Linked DNA regions of Homo sapiens: region 1 is linked to region 2. The links are contacts of gene promoters, found by promoter capture Hi-C in human tissues and cell types (Jung and others, 2019). All regions are on one chromosome and are shown on one strand. The core of a region is centred on a gene start or on the middle of the fragment in contact, and the rest is flanking DNA. Distances in the headings are between cores, read along the strand shown.

Region 1 (7,206 bases), core at 4,479-6,978, 63 kb after region 2:
AGCCAAGATCGTGCCACTGCACTCCAGCGTGGGTGACAGAGCGAGACCCTGTCTCAAAAAAAAAAAAAAAAACAAACTCATTCCTAGACTGTCTAGTTTAGGATAACATACAAATTAGTTTCTCCTAATTTGGATTACAGAAACATAAAATTGACAGAGCCAGGAAGTAACCCAGGAAAAAGATGTGGTAGCAAGGACAAGTCATTCTTGGAGAAGTTTTCAAAAGGGGAATATCCACGGGTAAATGTCAACTGAAGCTCAGATCACCTCAAGAAACCTGAGATTAACAAAAAGGCACTACACAGAAGTGGGTAAGAGAACACTGGAAGCACACTGACTAAATTTGAATCCCAGCTCTTTGCATTTACCAGCTGTGTGACCTTGGGAACATAGTTTACCACCATTTATAAAATGTACCCTACCTTCATGAGATTTTTTTTTTTTTTTTTAAACAAAGTCTCGCTCTGTCGCCCAGGCTGGAGTGCAGTGGCAAAATCTTGGCTCACTGCAACCTCCGCTTCCCAGGTTCAAGGGATTCTCCTGCTTCAGCCTCCCTAGCTGGGATTACAGGCACGCACCAGTGCATCCAGCTAATTTTTTGTATCTTTAGTAGAGACAGGGTTTCACCATGTTGGCCAGGCTGGTCTTGAACTCCTGGCCTCAAATGATCCACCTGCCTCGGCCTCCCAAACTGCTAGGATTATAGGTATGAGCCACTGCGCCCAGACTTTTTTGAGGCTGAGTCTCACTCTCTTGCCCTGGCTGTAGTGCAGTGGCACAATCTCGGCTCACTGCAACCTCTTCCTCCTGGGTTCAAGCGATTCTCCTGCCTCAGGCTCCCAAGTAGCTGGGGTTACAGGCTCCTGCCACCACGCCTGGTTAATTTTTTGTATTTTTAGTAGAGATGGGGTTTCACCATGTTGGCCAGGCTGGTCTCGAACTCTTAACCTCAGGTGATCCACCCGCCTCGGCCTCCCAAAGTGCTAGGATTACAGGTGTGAGCCACCACCACACCTGGCCGAGATTATTTTGAAGATTAAATTTGGGTTTAACATATTCCAGTGCTTAGGTGCCTGATACACAGTAAACATTATTTACATGTTGGCTCTTGTGGGGCACAGTGGCTCACATCTGTAATCCCAGCTACTCAGGAGGCTGAGGTAGGAAGACTGCTTGAGGCCAGGAATTTAAGACCAGCATGGGCAACGCAGTAAAATTCCAACTCTTTAAAAACTTTTAAAAAATTAGCCAAGTGTGGTGGCATAAACTTATAGTCCCAACGACTTAGGAGGCTGAGAGGACAGAATTGCTGGAGCTCAGGAGCCTGAGCTTGCAGTGTGCCATAGTGACACCTGTGAATATCCACTGTACTCCAGCCTGGGCAACAACAGAGTAAGATCCCCTCTCTTAAAAAAAAAAAAAAAAAAAAAAAAAAAAAAAAAAAAAAAAGGCAATAATCATTACTATTACTTTTCACTGGGCGCGGTGGCTCACGCCTGTAATCCCAGCACTCTGGGAGGCTGAGGTGGGCGGATCAGGAGATCGAGACCATCCTGGCTAACACAATGAAACCCCGTCTCTACTAAAAATACAAAAAATTAGCTGGGCGTGGTGGCAGGGACCTGTAATCAAAGCTACTCAGGAGGCTGAGGCAGGAGAATTGCTTGAACCCAGGAGATGGAGGTTGCAGTGAGCTGCTCTGTCACCCAGGCTTCAATATCCAATGGCGTGAAACACGGCTCATTGAAGCCTCAACCTCCCGGGCTCAAGTGATCCTCCCACCTCAGCCTTCTGAGTAGGTGGGACTACAGGTGTGAGCCACCATGCCCAGCTATTTTTTTTTTTTTCCTTTATGTAGAGATGGGGTCTCACTATGTTTCCCAGGCTGGTCTTAAACTCCTGGACTCAAATGATTCTCCCACCTCAGTCTCCCAAAGTGCTGGGTTTATAGGTATGAGCCACTGTGCCCAGCCTTAATTTGAAATTTAAAACAATCCTAATCTAGATGGAACAAGTATTATTCTCTTTCTACAGATAAGGAAACCCAGGCTCAGAAAGATTAAGTAACTTGTTCTGTGATATAAAGCTGGGTCAGTGGATCTGGTATTGAATCTCTGTCTTAGTTCCTAGACATGTGATCATTCCATTAAATATTTTCCAATCTGCAGGCTGTGACCAGCCTTTTAAAAGTGTTGAATTTAAAATGCCACAAAATAATAGTAAGCATACTTATTTTTTCATGACTGTTATCTATATTCTATGTGTGTGTTTACTGAGATGCAATCTTTATCGTGGGCATAGATAAAATGTCTGAAAAACATTGAACGGTTCCATAGCTGCCTCTCTAGTCAATGTTTAACAAGCACATATTATATCCCTCTGATTACACTATTATATACGACAAAAACACACAATTCTAAGCCGTGGTTTTGATGATGATGATGATGAGGATGAGGATGATATTATTTTTGAGACAGAGTTTCGCTCTTGTTGCCCAGGCTGGAGTGCAATGGCACGATTTCAGCTCACTGCAACCTCCGCCTCCCAGGTTCAAGCAATTCTCCTGCCTCAGCCTCCCAAGTAGCTGAGATTACAGGCATGTGCCACCATGCCCGGCTATTTTTTTTTTTTTTTTGAGACAAAGTTTCACTCTTGTAGCCTAGGCTGGAGTGCAATGACGCAATCTCGCAATCTCAGCTTACTGCAACTCCATCTCCCAGGTTCAAACGATTCTCCTGCCTCAGCCTCCCGAGTAGCTGGGACTACAGGTGCCTGCCACCATGCCCTGCTAATTTTTTTGTATTTTTAGTAGAGACGGGGTTTCACCATGTTAGCCAGGATGGTCTCGATCTCCTCTCCGCCTGCCTTGGCCTCCCAAAGTGCTGGGATTACAGGTGTGAGGCACCACACCCAGCTAATTTTTGTATTTTTAGTAGAGACGGGGTTTCACCTTGTTGGCCAGGATGGTCTCGATCTCCTCACCTCGTGATCTATCCACCTCGGCCTCCCAAAGTGCTGGGATTACAGGTGTGAGCCACCACACCCGGCCATAGGTTTTGTTTTTTTTTTTAAGTGTGCATGTAATTACTGACTTCCTAATGAATTGGAGGAATCACCTCTCCTAGGCCAACACTTTGCAATGTAACTCATTCTTATGCTTTGGCTAGCCTAACACTTTGAAATCAATTCATAGTGAAAATCCTTTCAAAGTGAAGGATAAGACAGCAACTATAAGCAAGGTAAATCCGCTGGGAAAATGACTATACATAGGCAAAGGAAAGCTTGAAGTGGTCAGACTTTTATTCCCCCAGGGGAGAGCTGTATTATTCACACAGAGTAAACTGTATCAAAACACAATACAACTAATGATGGAATAGTTACCTCTCATTCTCAAGCAATCCTAGCACAGAAAACCCTTCCCCTTGTATCCTCATTCTCTCCCTGAATGTAAGAAGTAAACCCTGACTTTAAGCCTACTCTCAACTCATACCTTTCCTAAGTCAGTTTTCATTTGGACACTTGTGCTGTGACATCTTTTGGAAGCTGGGCATCATACAGCCCGCCCAGGTCTCTAGCAGGAAGCATCTCCCTGCTCCCTATATTATTTTGAATTTTCTGGGAAAAAGGATTTCACATGTGTACTTGGCCATGTACCCACTATGTATCCATTTGGTCTGACAACTTCTTAGAACTAGTTCTCTGTGCACAACGCCTTGCCATACATTGCTAGTGAAGAGTTTCAGAAAGGACAGTAAATTCAGGGCAGGGAGAATGAAGTTTTACTTATAGCTAACACACTGCCCTTCACTGTATTTTTTTTTTTTTTTTTTTTTTTTTTTTGAGACAGAGTCTCGCTCTGTCGCCCAGCCTGGAGTGCAGTGGCGCGATCTCGAGTGCAGTGGTGCGATCTCCGCTCACGGCAACCTCCACCTCCTGGGTTCACGCCATTCTCCTGCCTCAGCCTCCTGAGTAGTTGAGACTACAGGCGCCCGCAACCACGCCCAGCTAATTTTTTTGTATTTTTAGTAGAGACGGGGTTTCACCATGTTAGCCAGGATGGTATGATCTCCTGACCTCGTGATCCACCCTCCTCGGCCTCCCAAAGTGCTGGGATTACAGGCGTGAGCCACCATGCCCAGCCCCCACTGTATCTTCTATTCTTCTGTTATCTAGGGCTAGTTTCCCAATCTTGCCAAGGCAGATTATAAGGTAATACAGAAAGACAAGTTTGATACATTAATGCATTCTATTCCCTTTAGGCCCTTCCTTCTCCTCCCCCAGCCTGAGTATGGACCATGAGGAATCCTGATATGTAATAACCTTTGTCAAAGGCTTCTATATAGCCTTAGTGAAAATCAAAGCACTTACATTGCTTGTCACTGAGACTCACTATAACTTGAAGATTTATGGTTCACGCTCCACATGTCCAAGGAATTAGCAGGTTTCTGAAGCTAAAGGGTCTCTGAAAGCTCAAGAGGCTGCTAAGCTTAAAGGGGCCCGAGAATTGAAAGCTTAAAGGAAGAGGTGGAGCACCCCCTTCCACACCTGGCAGACCACAACTAGCTAATGAAATTTGCAATGCTGGGTCAATCTACAGGAAGGAAAAACAGATATACAGTCCCTGTTAGAATAATACTTTCATAGCTAGGGTAAACACACAGATAAAGATTCTGAAATTCACTTTAGGAAGCTTCCTCATTTCAGGAACTGTCTGCAAAACAAATAAAAAACTAATAAAGTAGTCTTTTTTTTTTTTTTTTTGAGACGGAGTTTCGCTCTTGTTGCAGGCTGGAGTGCAATGGCACGATCTTGGCTCACCGCAACCTCCACCTCCTGGGTTCAAGCAATTCTCCTGCCTCAGCCTCCCGAGTGGCTAGGATTACAGGAATGTGCCACCACACCCAGCTAATTTTGAATTTTTAGTAGAGATGGGGTTTCTCCATGTTGGTCAGGCTAGTTTTGAACTCCCAACCTCAGGTGATCCGCCCGCCTCGGCCTCCCAAAGTGCTGGGATTACAGGCGTGAGCCACCGCACCCAGCCTAAAGCAGTCCTTTAAACCTCTAAAGTGTTGAAAGTACCACAACTCACTCAATGATCAGCAGAATTATTTGGCTCCCTTCTGTGGACCTGAGAAATTCAAAAGTCATTCAGAATTGCTTTTTTGTTTGTTTTTGACACAAGGTCTCACCCTGTCATCCAGGCTGGAGTATGGTGGTGCAATCATAGCTCACTGCAACCTTGAACTTCTAGGCTTAACGGATCTTCTTGCCTCAGCTTCCTGAGTAGCTGGGATTATAGGTGCACACCATTGCATGTGGCTAATTTTTTTGTTTTTTATAGAGACAGGTTTTTGCCATGTTGCCCAGGCTGGTCTGGAACTCATGAGCTCAGGCAATCTGCCTGCCTCGGCCTCCCAAAGTGCTGGGATTACAGGCATGAGCCACCGCGTCCGGCCTCAGTATTGTTATTTATCAAAGTGTGTGACTGCTTCTAACCTGTCAAATATGCATCTTATACTACATATTAAGTCCCACCAAACAAGTCATTTAAGTCAACATTATTTTAGCATTGAGTTAATCGGGGAGGAAAAATCCAATAAATATACATGTAACTCTAAAGATGCCCAAATAATTGTAATTTGCCCTCCCTTTTAAAATTAATTTACTTTTGTTTTTTGAGTCAGAGTCTCACTCTGTCATCCAGGCTGGAGCGCAGTGATGCAATATTGGCTTACTATAACCACTGCCTCCCAGGTTCAAACAATTCTCCTGCCTCAGCCTCCCGAGTAGCTGGGATTACAGATGCCCGCCACCACACCCACCTAATTTTTGTATTTTTAGTTTAGTAGAGATGGGGTTTCACCATGTTAGCCAGGCTGGTCTTGAACTCCTGATTTCAGGTGATCTGCCTGCCTGCCTCGGCCTCCCAAAGTGCTGGGATTACAGATGTAAGCCACAGCGCCCGGCCTTGCCTTTCTTTTATCTCAAAGATACCTCAAAAAAAAAAAAAAAAAAAAAAAACTAACACCCCCCCGACAAGTAATCTTATGGATAGTGGTAGAAAACAAAAGTTCAAAATTCTTCTATTACTGGTACACATCTTCTTCATTCTGTGTCCTTTTTTTTTTTTTTGAGATGGAGTCTCGCTCTGTTACGCAGGCTGGAGTGTGCAGTGGCGGAATCTCAGCTCATTGCAACCTCTACCTCCTGGGTTCAAGCAACTCTCTGTCTCAGCCTCATGAGTAGCTGGGATTACAGGCACCCACCACCATGCACAGCTAATTTTTTGTATTCTTAGTACACACGGGGTTTCACCATCTTAGCCAGGCTGGTCTTGAACTCCTGAACGATCCACCTGCCTCGGCCCCCCAAATTCCTGGGGTTACAGGCGTGAGCCACTGTGCCTGGCCCACTGTCCTCTTTAATTTCTTCTCTCTTTGGGACCTCCCTTACCAACTCAGTGTCCTTATCAACTTTTACCCAGTTCTATTAAGTCACTTCAATTGAATTAGAAATGGAAGCTACCCAAACAGAATGAGAAGAGTACTGGATGCAGTGATCACTCCCACCCAATTGCAATGAGCCCCAACAGGGCCTACTCTTGGTTTCTAAATACTGCATTTTCCATTGAAAGGAACCAAGGCTCCTTGGAGAATTGACTGAGGCAGAGAAAGTACTAGATGAGTCTAATATATCTTATTGTGCAGGAAAGGAAGTGCTCAAAGAATAACAGTGAAATATCAAAGGACAAAGAAGGCACAAGATGCTTAGTTGGTGAGGGAAACCCCAGAGACAGAAGTTTACACAGTAGAAATTAGAGAAGACATTGAGTGGGTACACTGGGTAAAGCAGGCATGTTACCAGAATACAACAGTTGTGAATTTTTCTTTTCTACCATTGCCTGTAAGGTGTTAGTTTGGGGAGTATTTATCTGTCAACCTATTGAAATAAAAGAATGGCAGATTATTTGGGCATTTTTATGATTAAACATATATTTATATAATTTTTTTTCTTGATTTACTGGCCAAATCGGGAATAATCTGAGCATCAAAATAAATAATAAAAGATGATATTTCATTGAATAAAACAAGAAATCATTAGTTCATACTAATGTAAACAAATACATTGGAAGGCTGAAAAGGAATGCAATATTTGTATAGTTTCTAAGCCCTGTCTCCTAAAAATACTAATTACAAAGGGAAAATG
Region 2 (7,357 bases), core at 122-2,621:
CAAAAGATGCCGGAGAAGAAGGCACCCATGGCCTAGAGGGAAGAAAGAATAGGAGTTAGGGAACCCAGATGCAGACGCTTTCCTGGAAGTTTGGGGGGTGTGGCTATCAGATTGAGGGCTGGAAAATCCCAAATTTCCCCCTGGAATAATAGTTTATAGTGGGTAAGATGCTTTGTTTTGTTAGTTCAACATTACTAGATTTTGATTGCTGCTCACAGCTGGCTGTGGGTGATGTTCAGTCTAAAGAGGCAGTGAAACCATGGGTTGCTGGCCTCAGTGAACAAGTACAGACTGCCAACCTCCAGCATCCTAGCATAAGAAGTAGCACACAGGTCGGGGGTGGGTGGTAAGAAAACACGGCCTTCTCCCAGATTCAGAAAGACGGAGCTGAGACTAGATTACTGACACCAGGCCTATACCACATAGTCTGCTTCTCTCTTACCATGACGTGATGGACAAGGTATTCCCAAGAGGCTCGCGTCTGTCCGCTAGCCACGATGTCCACCGTATCGTGGATGAAATACCCTAGTGGAGGGATGGGGCAAGAGATCATGAACTGAACAAGCAGCTTCCTTCTCCCTGTCCCCAATTTGCCTCCCGCTTCCTGGGCAAGACCTACCCGCAGAGAAGCAAACGAGCAAATAGCCAGAAAGTGACCACGCCGTCTCAATCTCCACTAACATGTCAGGAGTCTGCCATACACTGGAAAGGAGGGAAGAGGAGGCTCTGCATTTCGGCACCCTCAAGGACCATCAACTTCTCGGTTACCCTTCGCAGCCCCGGGGGATCCTGGGCTCGCGCTAGTGGCTGACTGGGAAGCTAAGAGTGGCTGGGCAAAACCCAAGAGCCTCCAGTTTCCCAGGGGCGATCCCCCTCCCCTGGGGCCACTGCGGCTTTTGGTTGGATAGGATACCAAACGGGATCAGGTGAGACTGCGTGGCCTCAGCCCGCCAGTGAGCGATGGGGGTAGTAACACAAGAGCCGGCCCCGGCTCCCCGCTCAGGATCCCCTGGCCACCTCATTTCCACAGTCGCTCACTCACCACAGCAGTGCCCAGATCCCCGACACAATGGAGTGAGCGAAGGAGACGAGCAGGTTGTGCCAGCGCCAGGTGCGCAGGGGGTCGGCGCGCACGTGCACGGGTAGGGGCAGGCGACAGAGCGCGCGCCGGAGCGCCCGGAAGGTCAGCGTGGCGCCCAGGAGCAGCGGCAGGGCGGGGTGCAGCAGTCGGGGCATGCTGGCCCTCCCTGCCGTCCGCCCTCGAGGCCGCCTCCTAGGTCTGTTCTGGGAACCGGGATCCCTCTCGGGCCAGTCCAGGCCGGCCGCCTCTCCCGCCGGCCGCCAGCCCCACACAGTTGGCGAAGCCCTCTAGGCCCCTTGGCTCCTCCTCGCCCTCCCTGCGAGGCCTCTGCCCCCGCCCCCAGCCGCCCGCGCCCCCGCCCCGCCCGCCTGCCCCCGCCCCGTCCGCCTGCCCCCGCCCCTCAGGCGCTGCTGCCGCGCGAGCCGGGTGTCCCCGTGGCCTCTCGGCCACCGGCCGGCTCCCGCGGACTTCGGGTAACTAGGAGCTGTGCTGGGGGCGTCGTCGCCGAGACACCCCTCGCTGGCGCCTCCCGACTGCCGACGGAGTCCCCGCTGCCCTCGCTCGCCTGGCCTCATTAACCCGCGTCCCCACTTTTCCCCGGGCCACCGGCTACCCCGCCCTGGGCGGGTACCGCGAGAGCTCTCTCCGCCCTCTACTTTCTGCGCAGAGCTGGACGGGACCCGACACGCCCACGCCCCCTAAGTCCTGGTCCTGGGGTGGGCTCCGGAGCCCCGCGTCCGACAGTGGTCTCCGTGCAGACCCAGTGCCCCTACCGCACCACTCGCAGTCTTCTGGCCGGAGTCCCGTGTTTACCTGTCCCTCCCGCGCCCGCGAGGTGGGCACTTGGGAACTGCTGAGTAACCCATCGCCACCTCTTCCCGCCGGCTCTTAAACTCCTGGGGCCGGGCGGCTGTCACAGTCCTCCCTCAGACAGTCCCGGCCCTCGGCCCGGCTCCCCGGAGGCTGGGCAAGCAAGACCTCCGATTTGCCGGGACAGCTGGAGTGACCCGCGCTCTCCAAGCCGGTAGCTTGCAGCAGTTGCGGCTCCTAGCCACTAGGTGTCAGCCTGCCCTCACTGTGGCGCGGGCTCCCCCTCCCGCCTCCGAGCGAGGCAGCTGCTTTCGGGGAGAGTTTAGGTATAAACTCTGGGCGAAAGGAGGAGCAGCTGAGAGCCAGCGAGGGAAGTTAAGCGGAGATGAGAGCGGGGAGGGAGAAGAGGGTAGTAATAGAGGAGGGGCGGGAAGAAGCGGGGGAGGGGAAAGGTGCTGCGGGCGGGAGGAAGAAGCCGAGAAAACCTGAGGCGCAAGGACCCAGGGACCAAGCCGTTTGAGTGTTTTCCTCCCCTATGGCTCCAAGGTTACACATTAACCCCTGTGGGACTCTTAAGTCAACCAAAGCCCAGTCGGTTTCTAGGTGAGAACACGGGTGTCCTGGGTGAGCGGCTTTCCCGCCCCTCCCCTTGGCTCACAGAGCTGCTCTGTCCGCCGGCCGACACCGGCCTGAGCCAGCGCCCTTCCAGCAGTCATTCCACGTGGGTGGGTTTGGATACCCTTGCGAGAGCCAGGACAGGGGCAGAAGATAAAACGCCCCTTTCCTCACACCCCTTGCCCACTCTGATACAGGGACGCTAACCTTCAGCTAGTGACCATCCTCCTCCTGAATACTGATGTTTTCTTTCTTTCTTTTTTTTTTTTTGAGATGGAGGCTCACTCTATCGCCCAGGCTGGAGTGCAATGGCACGATCTCGGCTCACTGCAACCTCCGCCTCCCAGATTCAAGCGATTCTCCTGCCTCAGCCTCCCGAGTAGCTGGGATTACAAGCGCGCGCCACCGTGCCCAACTAATTTTTGTATTTTTAGTAGAGACGAGGTTTTACCATGTTGGCCAGGTTGGTCTCAAACTCCTGACCTCAGGTGATCCGCCCGCCTCGGCCTCCCCAAAGTGCTGGAATTACAGGCGTGAGCCACCGCGCCTGGCCGAATACTGAGTTTTTCTAGAGCTCCCGCAGAGCAGGAGCCCGGGAGAACCTGGAATTAACCTCACTTCCGGTAAAGAGCCTAGCTGGTCACACTAACCAGCCCCCTGCCTCTAGGCTTTTGCCTTGAGCTCATTTCGGCGAAACCGCGGTCTTTCCTTCTCCCCTTGATGCTTTCAGGTACTGACCCACTACCGCCCCCATCTTCCCCCATGGGAAGATGAGCACTGAGGGCAGATTACCCTCCTGCAGCGCGTGTGTGAAAGGGGAGTTGAGAGTGCTGACGAGCGCGGCGCTCACTAGTCGGGACGGCCCGAGACCGTGTCATGTCCTCTTCAGGTGAATCAACTTGCACGACTTGGGATTTCCCCCGTCCCTCCCCAGGCAAACACGAAACCAACCCTGCTGCCTTCTCCCAGGAGCGCTGGTCTCGGTCGTTTTGGGTGTGTTTATCGTTTGCGTGCCAAGGAGAACCCGCTTTCTCCTGAAATAGCGTCACTCGTGGGCAAGAAGGGGGTCAATCTTCTCTTCCCACCCCTTCCCGGCCTGTGGGGTTTAACTCTCGGGAACGCGACATCCTTTTAGTCTAGCAAGCTTTACAAGGGCTGGGTATATGTGTGGGAGGGGCGGGTACCGTGCCCGCCATTGCGGGCGCGCCCTATTTTCTTGCCCTATTCTTGGACACTGCGTGGGGCAGGGTCGTGAGGGGAAAAGTGACGGCGTGTCGCAGCGGGAGGTGTGTGGTGCAGGCCCACAAATACGGACGCGTGGCGGAACCCACACCTAGGGCGCTGGCTCCGCCCCGCAAGCCGCTCGCCGTGAAGGGGCGGGGCCCAGAGTGGGTGGGTCCGCGCACGCGCCGCGTGGGGGACGGAAGTGAAACTCTAAGAAATGAGATGGAGAAGTACGAGCGGATCCGAGTGGTGGGGAGAGGTGCCTTCGGGTGAGCCAGGGCTCTGGGGGAGGAAACTGCTAGGGGATAGGGAAAATAAGCCCCAATTCCGCCCGCGAAGTCGCCGCCCGCCTAATCCCGCCCCAAGGCGTGAGCGCCACTCTGGGAAGCCCCGCCCAAGCTTCCGGTCCCAGTCCCCCGGGGAGACTCCGCCTCTACGGAGGCCACGCCCCTGACAGGCCCATTGCTCCGCCCACTGAGTTATGTTAGCTTCTTTATTCATTCGTTCAACAAATACTGAGTGCCAGCTATGTATGTCAGGCTTTGGCCGCTGGGTATATAGTTAGAACCGGAACGGGCGTGGTCTTTTCCCTCTTGGAACTTACTGACTGTGGGAAAGTTATACAATAAACAAAACATTATGAAGTAAGAAGTTATAGCAGTTATGAAGTGTTATTAGCAGGTTGTGAGGATAGAGTACATTACCAGTGAGAATACTTATATGAGATGGTCAAGGAAGAATTCTCTGAGAAGGGAGATTGCTTGCTTGCTTGATTGATTTTTAAGACAGAGTCTCCCTCTGTCACCCCGGCTGGAGTTCAGTGGCACGATCTTGGCACACTGCAACCACCACCTCCTGGGTTCAAGCAATCGTTGTGCCTCAGCCTCCCGAGTAGCTAGGATTACAGGCGTGCGCCACCATGCCCGGCTAAATTTTTTGGATTTTTTTTTTTTTTTTTTTTTTTTGAGGCAGTCTCACTCTGTCGCAGTGGCGCGATCTCGAGTGCAGTGGCACTATCTCAGCTCACTGCAACCTCTGCCTCCCTGGTTCAAGCGCTTCTCCTGCCTCAGCCTCCCGAGTAGCTGGGACTACAGGCACGCGCCACCATGCCCAGCTAATATTTTTTGTGTTTTTAGTACAGATGGGGTTTCGCCATGTTGGCCAGGCTGGTCTCAAATTCCTGACCTCAGGTGATCCGCCCGCGCCGGCCTCCCTAAGTGCTGGAATTACAGGCGTGAGCCACCGCGACAGGCCAGAAGTGAGATTTAAGGCCAAGACTTGAGGAATGAGGACCAGTAGTCTGCAGGTGAAGGGAGAACTTTTCAGGCAAAGGAAATAGCGTATGTGAAATGTCTCACATGGGAAAACAGAGCATTCAAGAAACCGAGAAAGACTAGTAATAGTTGGAATGTAGTGGGCAAGGTAGAGAATGGTATAAAATGTAATTGTCGAGGGCGGGGACTAGATTATGGCCTGATAACCTGAGATAAAAGGTTCATTTGCCACAAACGGTTTTGTTTTGTTTTTGTTTTTGTTTTTGAGACGGAGTCTTGCACTGTCGCTCAGGCTGGAGTGTAGTGGCAATCTCAGTTCACTGCAATCTCCGCCTCCCGGGTTCACGCAATTCTCCTGCCTCAGCATCCTGAGTAGCTGGGACTACAGGCACACGCCACAACAACCGGCTAATTTTTTTTTTTTTTTTTTTTTTTTTTTTGTGAGACAGAGTCTCCTCTGTTGCCCAGGCTGGAGTGCAATGGCACCATCTTGGCTTACTGCAAGCCCCGCCTCCCGGGTTCAAGCAATTCTCCTGCCTCAGCCTTACAGGCGTGTGCCACCATGCCTGGCTAATTTTTTGTATTTTTAGTAGAGACAGGGTTTCACCATGTTGGCCAGCCTGGTCTCGAACTCCTGACCTCAGGCGATCCACCTGCTTCTGCCTCCCAAAGTGTTGGGATTACAGGCGTGAGCCACCACTCCCAGCCACCAGGAAGGGTTTTAAAGAGGAAGAGTGATCCTGAGACTTGGCAGAGTTTTCTGAAAAGGGGCAGGGTGCAGTGGCTCACGCCTATAATCCTAGCACTTTGGGAGGCCGAGATGGGCAATTGCTTGAGCTTAGGAGTTAGAGACCAGCCTGGGCAACACAATGAGTCCCCCTGTCTACAAAAAAATAAAAAAATTAGCCAGGTATGGTGGCATTGGCATGTGCCTGTAGTCCCAACTACTCAGGAGGCTGAGGTGGGAGGATCACTTGAGCATGGGAGGTGGAGGCTGTAGTAAGCTGAGATGAGACCCCTGCACTTCAACTTGGTTGACAGAGTGAGAACCTATCTAAAAAAAGAAATAATACAAGAAAAAAAGAAAGAAAGGAAAGAAAGAAGGGGCCGGGCACGGTGGCTCAGGCCTGTAATTCTAGCACTTTGGGAGGCCGAGGTGGTTGGATCACCTGAGGTCAAGAGTTCGAGACCAGCCTGGCCAACACAGTGAAACCCCATCTCTACTAAAAATACAAAATTTAGCTGGGTGTTGTGACGGCTACTTGGGAGGCTGAGTCAGGAGAATCGCTTGAACCTGGAAGGCAGAGGTTGCAGTGAGCTGAGACTGTGCCATTGCACTACAGCCTAGGCAACAAGAGTGAAACTCTGTCTCAAAAAAAAATAAAAACAAAAAGGCCGGGCGTGGGGGTCATGCCTGTAATCCCAGCACTTTGGGAGGCCGAGGCGGGCAGGTCACGAGGTCAAGAGATCGAGACCATCCCGGCCAACATGGTAAAACCCCGTCTCTACTAAAAATAAAAAAATTAGCTGGGCGTGGGTGGCACGCGCCTGTAGTCCCAGCTACTCGGGAGGCTGAGGGAGGAGAATTGCTTGAACCTGGGAGGCGGAGGATGTAGTGAGCCGAGATCGCGCCGCTCCACTCCCGCCTGGCAACAGAGTGAGACTCCTTCTCAAAAATAAAAAAAATAGAAAAATAAAAAATCTTATCAGACCATTCCTCTATATTTTGTCTTTCTTTCTTTCTTTTTTTTTTTCTGAGACAGAGTCTCGCTCTGTCACCCAGACTAGAGTGCAGTGGCACCATCTCGGCTCATTGCAAGCTCCGCCTCCCAGGTTCACGCCATTCTTCTGCCTCAGCCTCCCTAGCAGCTGGAACTACAGGCGCCCGCCACCACTCCCGGCTAATTTTTTTGTATTTTTTAGTAGAGACGGGGTTTCACCATGTTAGCCAGTATGGTCTCGATCTGCTGACCTCGTGATCCGCCTGCCTCAGTCTCCCAAAGGCCTGGGATTACAGGCGTGAGCCACCGCGCCTGGCCCCAATTTTTTTTTTTTTTTTTTTTTTTTTTTTTTTTTTTTTTTTGAGACGGAGTCTTGCTCTATCTTCTAGGCTGGACTGCAGTGGCGCAATCTAGGCTCACTGCAAGCTCCGCCTCACGGGTTCACGCCATTCTACTGCCTCAGTCTCCCGAGTAGCTGGGACTACAGGCACCCACCAGCATGCCTAGCTAATTTTTTGTATTTTTAGTAGAGACGGGGTTTCATCGTGTTAGCCAGGATAGTAAGATTTTTAAATTGCATTCTGGGGCTGGGCATGGTGGCTCATGCCCATAATCCCAGCACTTTGGGAGGC

Evidence for each region. Contacts are between HindIII fragments. The study calls those that stand out against the background at their distance.
Region 1: a fragment that was not itself captured here is called in contact with the fragment with the promoter of TLCD1 in region 2 in 5 of the 25 tissues and cell types used here (aorta, hippocampus, mesenchymal stem cells and 2 more).

Annotation. Positions count from the first base shown.
Region 1 is chr17:28,783,083-28,790,288 of GRCh38, forward strand. All of the region lies in intron 1 of FAM222B (family with sequence similarity 222 member B), which reads right to left. LOC124903965 (a long non-coding RNA gene) reads left to right here. Exons shown (of 3, transcript XR_007065689.1): 3 at 141-469. Among named protein-coding and RNA genes, the nearest start is that of TRAF4, 43 kb to the left of the region's middle. The HindIII fragment of the contact is 3,691 bases long and covers 3,884-7,206 here.
Region 2 is chr17:28,724,862-28,732,218 of GRCh38, forward strand. TLCD1 (TLC domain containing 1) reads right to left here and starts at 1,372. Exons shown (of 4, transcript NM_138463.4): 1 at 1,043-1,372; 2 at 620-702; 3 at 443-525; 4 at 1-32. The coding sequence starts at 1,236. It overlaps NEK8 (NIMA related kinase 8), which reads left to right and starts at 3,927. Exons shown (of 15, transcript NM_178170.3): 1 at 3,927-3,999. The coding sequence starts at 3,953. RefSeq lists enhancers at 184-907, 271-570, 691-740, 908-1,631, 1,632-2,355 and 3 more and a silencer at 1,151-1,680. The HindIII fragment of the contact is 6,466 bases long and covers 1-3,889 here.